Linked DNA regions of Homo sapiens: region 1 is linked to region 2. The links are contacts of gene promoters, found by promoter capture Hi-C in human tissues and cell types (Jung and others, 2019). All regions are on one chromosome and are shown on one strand. Each heading gives the region's core, a stretch centred on a gene start or on the middle of the fragment in contact. The rest is flanking DNA. Distances are from core to core; before and after follow the strand shown.

The links. The method cuts DNA at HindIII sites, captures the fragments that hold promoters and counts their contacts. A contact is called where the count stands out against the background at its distance.
Region 1: a contact is called between a fragment that was not itself captured here and the fragment with the promoter of CYP2C18 in region 2, in 5 of the 25 tissues and cell types used here (adrenal gland, hippocampus, small bowel and 2 more).

Annotation. Positions count from the first base shown.
Region 1 is chr10:94,891,687-94,895,032 of GRCh38, reverse strand. No RefSeq gene overlaps it. Among named protein-coding and RNA genes, the nearest start is that of CYP2C9, 45 kb to the left of the region's middle. The HindIII fragment of the contact is 5,262 bases long and covers 1-3,346 here.
Region 2 is chr10:94,682,086-94,685,130 of GRCh38, reverse strand. It overlaps CYP2C18 (cytochrome P450 family 2 subfamily C member 18), which reads right to left and starts at 1,402. Exons shown (of 9, transcript NM_000772.3): 1 at 1,144-1,402. The coding sequence starts at 1,311. The HindIII fragment of the contact is 11,159 bases long and covers 1-3,045 here.

The sequences.
Region 1 (3,346 bases), core at 710-3,209, 210 kb before region 2:
ATGTATATTCTGTTGATTTGGGGTGGAGAGTTCTGTAGATGTCTATTAGGTCCACTTGGTGCAGAGTTGAGTTCAATTCCTGGATATCCTTGTTAACTTTCTGGCCTCTTGATCCGTCTAACGTTGGCAGTGGGGCATTAAAGTCTCCCATTATTATTGTGTGGGAGTCTAAGTCTCTTTGTAGCTCACTAAGGACTTGCTTCATGAATCTGGGTGCTCCTGTATTGGGTGCATGTATATTCAGGACAGTTAGCTCTTCTTGTTGAATTGATCCCTTCACCATTATGTAATGGCCTTCTTTGTCTCTTTTGATCTTTGTTGGTTTAAAGTCTGTTTTATCAGAGACTAGGATTGCAACCCCTGCTTTTTTTATTTTCCATTTGCTTGGTAGATCTTCCTCCATCCCTTTATTTTGAGCCTATGTGTGTCTCTCCACGTGAGATGGGTTTCCTGAATACAGCATACTGATGGGTCTTGACTCTTTATCCAACTTGCCAGTCTGTGTCTTTTAATTGGAGCATTTAGCCCATTTACATTTAAGGTTAATATTGTTATGTGTGAATTTGATACTGTCATTATGATGTTAGTTGGTTATTTTGCTCATTACTTGATGCAGTTTCTTCCTAGCCTCGATGGTCTTTAAAATTTGGCATGTTTTTGCAGTGGCTGGTACCAGTTGTTCCTTTCCATGTTTAGTGCTTACTTCAGGAGCTCTTTTAGGGCAGGCCTGATGGTGATAAAATCTCTCAGCATTTGCTTTTCTGTAAAGGATTTTATTTCTCCTTCACTTATGAAGCTTAGTTTGGCTGGATATGAAATTCCGGGTTGAAAATTCTTTCTTTAAGAATGTTGAATATTGGCCCCCACTCTGTGCTAGCTTGTAGAGTTTCTGCTGAGAGATCAGCTGTTAGTCTGATGGGCTTCCCTTTGGGGGTAACCGAACCTTTCTCTCTGGTGCCCTTAATATTTTTTCCTTCATTTCAACTTTAGTGAATCTGACAATTATGTGTCTTGGAGTTGCTCTTCTCAAGGAGTATCTTTGTGGCATTCTCTGTATTTCCTGAATGTGAATGTTGGCCTGCCTTGCTAAATTGGGGAAGTTCTCCTGGATAATATCCTGCAGAGTGTTTTCCAGCTTGGTCCATTCTCCCTGTCACTTTCAGGTACACCAATCAGACGCAGATTTGGTCTTTTCACATAGTCCCATATTTCTTGGAGGCTTTGTTCATTTCTTTTTATTCTTTTTTCTCTAGGCTTCCCTTCTCACTTCATTTCATTCATCTTCCATCACTGATACTCTCACTTCCAGTTGATCGCATCAGCTATGGAGGCTTGTGCATTCATCATGTTGTTCTCGTGCCATGGTTTTCAGCTCCATCAGGTCCTTTAAGGACTTCTCTGCATTGATTATTCCAGTTATCCATTTGTCTAATTTTTTTCAAGGTTTTTAACTTCTTTGCCATTGGTTCAAACTTCCTCCTTTAGCTTGGAGTAGTTTGATCTTCTGAAGCCTTCTTCTCTCCACTCACCAAAGTCATTCTCCATCCAGCTTTGTTCCATTGCTGGTGAGGAGCTCTGTTCCTTTGGAGGAGGAGAGGTGCTCTGGTTTTTAGAGTTTCCAGTTTTTTGGCTCTGTTTTTTCCCCATCTTTGTGGTTTTATGTACCTTTGGTCTTTGATGATGGTGATGTACAGATGGGTTTCTGGTGTGGATGTCCTTTCTGTTTGTTAGTTTTCCTTCTAGCAGTCAGGACCCTCAGCTGCAGGTCTGTTGGAATTTGCTGGAGGTCCACTCCAGACCCTGTTTGCCTGGGTATCAGCAGCAGTGGCTGCAGAACAGCGGATATTGGTGAACCGCAAATGCTGCTGCCTGATCATTCCTCTGGAAGTTTTGTTTCAGAGGAGTACACGGCCATGTGAGGTGTCAGTCCTTCCCTACTGGGGATTGCCTCCCAGTTAGGCTACTCAGGGTTCAGGGGCCCACTTGAGGAGGCAGTCTGCCCATTCTCAGATCTGAAGCTGTGTGCTGGGAGAACCACTACTCTCTTCAAAGCTGTCAGACAGAGACATTTAAGTCTGGAGAGGTTACTGCTCTTTTTGTTTGTCTGTGCCATGCCACCAGAGATGCAGCCTACAGAGGCAGGCAGGCCTCCGTGAGTTGTGGTGGGCTCCACCCAGTTTGAGCTTCCTGGCCACTTTGTTTACCTACTCAAGCCTTGGCAATGGTGGGCACCCCTCCCCCAGCCTCACTGCCACCTTGCAGTTAGAGCTCAGACTACTGTGCTAGCAATGAGTGAGGCTCTGTGGGCATAGGATCCTGTGAGCCATGTGCAGGATATAATCTCCTGGTGTGCAGTTTGTAGAGCCCATTGGAAAAGTGCTTTGTTAGGGTGGGAGTGACCTGATTTTCCAGGTGCCATGTGTCACCCCTTTCTTTGACTAGGAAAGGGAATTCCCTGACCCATTGTGCCTGCCAGGTGAGGCAATGCCTCACCCTGCTTTGGCTCATGCACGGTGCACTACACCCACTGTCCTGCACCCACTGTCTGGCACTCCCCAGTGAGATGAACTCAGTACCTCAGTTGGAAATGCAGAAATCACCCATCTTCTGTGTCACTCACACTGGGAGCTGTAGACTGGAGCTGTTCTTATTTGGCCATCTTCTCTTATTGTAGTGTTAATTTGCATTTCAGTGAAGCTTCATGATGCTGAGTGCTTTGGCAATATCAAGTCTTTTTTGAAGGGCTTGCATAGTTTAGGTATGAGTCCATTGTTGGCTTTATATATATCATTTATATATGTATATGCAATTGTGTATATATGTGTATATATATATGCATATATAATACAGTTATGTAATTTTAATAACTATAAATGTAACAAAAAGTTGGAAGTACAGAGCATTTTCTCTATTTTGAACATTTGAGAGTATTTTCTGACCTAAAGTTCCAAACCTGAAATATTTTAGTATATAGCTCTTATAAGCAAGGCAATTTGACTATATAACCAAAATAAAACCTTCAAATTCAGGAAATTAATATTGATGCAATAGGGCCATCTAATCCTCATTTCCATTAGTGTTTCCTCAATAAGTACCAATGATATTCATTATATTCATTTCAGAATCCAGTTTGGAATCCTGAATGCCATTTTGCAACTAGTTGTCATGTCTCCTTAGTCAATCACAGCCTGACACAGTTCCTCAGTCTTTCCTCAACCTCCTTGACCTTGTCACTTTTGAAAAGCATAGGTTGGGAGTTTTTAAAATTTCTCTCCATTTGGGATTATCTGATGTTTTTTCATAATCAGATTCTGGTTATGCAGCTTTGGCAGGAATATCACAGAAG
Region 2 (3,045 bases), core at 153-2,652:
GCCCAGGAGCTCAAGGCTGCAGGGACCATGATCCCATCACTACACTCCATCCTACAACAGAGCAAAACCCTGTCTCTATTAATTAATTAATTAATTAATTAATTAAATGGGCAAAGGATTTGAGTAGACATTTTTCAAAAAAAGACATACAAATGGCCAAGATATATTTTTTAAATACTCAACAAATTTAATCATCAGAGAAATGCAAATTAAAACCACAATGAGATAACTCATCACAACTCATAGATAAGATATTATTATTATCAAAAAGATAAAAAGATAACAAGTGTTGACAAAGATGTGGAATAAAGTGAACCTTGGGTATGTAAATTAGCATTGTGATTTGAGAAAACAGTATGGATGTTCCTAAAAAAAACAAAAATAGAACTATCAGATGATCCAGCAATCCCACTACCAGTATATACCCAAAGGAATTGAAGTCAGTATGTGGAAGACATGTCTGTACTTCCATGTTTATTGCAGTGCTATTGACAATAGCCAAGATATGGAAACAACCTAAGTGTTCATCAATAAATTAATGGATTTTGTATGTGACATATATGTACAATGAAATGCTATTCAGCCTTTTAAAGAGGAAAAAATATTCTTATTTATGACGGCATGGATGAATCTACAGAACATCATATTAATTAAATAAGCCAGGCAGAGAGAGGCAAATATCATATATGATCTCACTTCTATGTGGAATCTTAAAAAGTTAAACTCAGAGAAGTAGAGATTAGAATGGTGGCTACCAGAGGCTGGCAGGTGGAGATGGGCCAAATAAGGGGATACGTTGGTCAACAGGTACAGAGTTACACTTAGATAGGAGGAATAAGCTCGGGTGTTCTATTGGACAGCAAGGTGACTATAATTAATATTAATGTACTGTATATTTCAAAACAGCTAAAAAAGAGGATTTTAAATGTTCTCACTACAAAGAAATGACAAATATTTGAGATGATGGATATGCTAATTACCCTGATATGATCAATTCACAATCTATACATGTATCAAAATGTAATATTGTACCCCATTAATATATACAATTATCATTTATCACTTTAAAATGAAATAAAACTTTAAGAATTGTGAGGTTAAATACACCTTGTACATTACTGGAGGAACATAAAGCATACTTACATTGGTTAAGGATTTGCTCATGTCCTTAACATCTAACTGCAGGATATTTCCAATAATCGGGAGAGGAGTGGGGCCAGACGGGAGCCTCCCTCTTCCAGAGCTCTGCCTCCAGAGTGAAAGGAGAAACAAACAGGAGAGACAGAGCACCAGAGCCACAGCTGGATCCATTGAAGGCTTCTCTTCTTAGTAAGACAACTGCGGGCTTTCACTTCAAGGCTTTTATAACACTCCCTACTAATCCACCTGTGATTCTGACTCTGACTGTGACTAGTCAGCAAAAAGCACTTTAATCTCTCTTTTGAATGAACATTGGCTCACTGAAGAAGATAAAAATAAGGTGTTCTTTTTTCTTGTTCTTTCCGGTGCCCCACCCTGGAGATTCTGGTTTAACTAGTCTGAAGCAGAGCCCAGGATTTTGTTGTTGTTGTTGTTGTTTTTCCTTGAGATGGAGTTTCGCTCTTGTTGCCCAGGCTGGAGTGCAATGGCAAGATCTCAACTCACTGCAGCCTCCACTTCCTGGATTCGAACGATTCTGCCTCAGCTTCTGGCGTGGCTGGGATTACAGGAATGCACAACTACGCCCAGGTGATTTTGTATTTTTAGCAGAGACAGGGTTTCACCATGTTGGCCAGGCTGGTCTCCCTAAGTGCTGGGATTACAGGCATGAGCCACCGTGCCTGGCTAGGCCTAGGTTTTTTCAAACAGCCCAGGTGGTTCCACTGTGCAGCCAAAATTGAGAAACAATGAAATAAATTATTTCATCAAAAAATTATTCAAAATTTTGGATTTTTAGATTGATGAGCAGTTGGAAATATGACTTTGAGGGCAATCTGTGTATTATATTCCTTGTACATAAAATAATGTTTATCCTATTGAGAGGAGTTAGCCAGCTTGCATTAGGCAGGCAGTAAGGGAAGGGTCCCCAGAGAACCTCCAACCCTTCCAGGTCATTGCCCAATCCACAAAAACCCCAAGTACTTACACTAGATGTTTTGTGCAGATAAGGGAACTTGCACAGGGAGCTTGCCTAAATATGCCCACAGTGAAAAATTCCTACCTTTAACACATGCGCAGGAAGGGAAATAAATCAATATGGAGTGGCTTAGACTAAGAGCCCACACGCGCAATGGAAGGAAGGGGTGGAAACACCAGGAATTCACGCCTTATGCAAATAAGTATCCCAGCCTCATCAGCTTTTCTATAAAAGTCCTGGTATTCAACTGTGAAGTGGCAATCTGCAACCTGCTTTCAGGGCCTCTCTCTTTGCTGAGAGTTTTCCTTTCACTTAATAAATTCTACTCCACTCACTCTCCAGTGTCTGTGTGCCTAATTCTTCCTGCATAAGACAACTCGGACCTAGCTGAGCTAAGGATCTGCAAGACTGCAACACTATAATGCTTTCTCAAACACTAGATCATTTTCCTTGAAAATGAGATCCTTTTGAAATATTTTAATGTAGTACTAACATTACAGCTGCCTAAACATAAAGCAGCTAACAAACTCATTCATCTTAAATGGCTAAACCGGTTATCAATTAACTAAGTAAACATACACACCTTTTTCCATTAAACCCCGTGAAAAACACTGGACGGCTGAGAATATTATTTCATATTTTCCAAATGGGGAAAGGGAGACTCTAGGAGAACAGATGACCTGTCCAGTGTCCCACAGCTCATAAATGGCAGGCTGGGATTTGAACTGAGATCTTCTGACGCCCGCTGTGGTATATTCTCACTTACACCAGAGCTGCCTTGAGAACAGTTTTAGCAAAATAAAATAAATCCTAAAAACATTTCTCACTCTGAATCTACACCACACTGTTCACAAAATAACAGGGTTGTACATTCTCAAGAGAAGAAATAAAAGCTAGGGTTTCTCCCCTCTCTGTCACTGAAGAGCTGA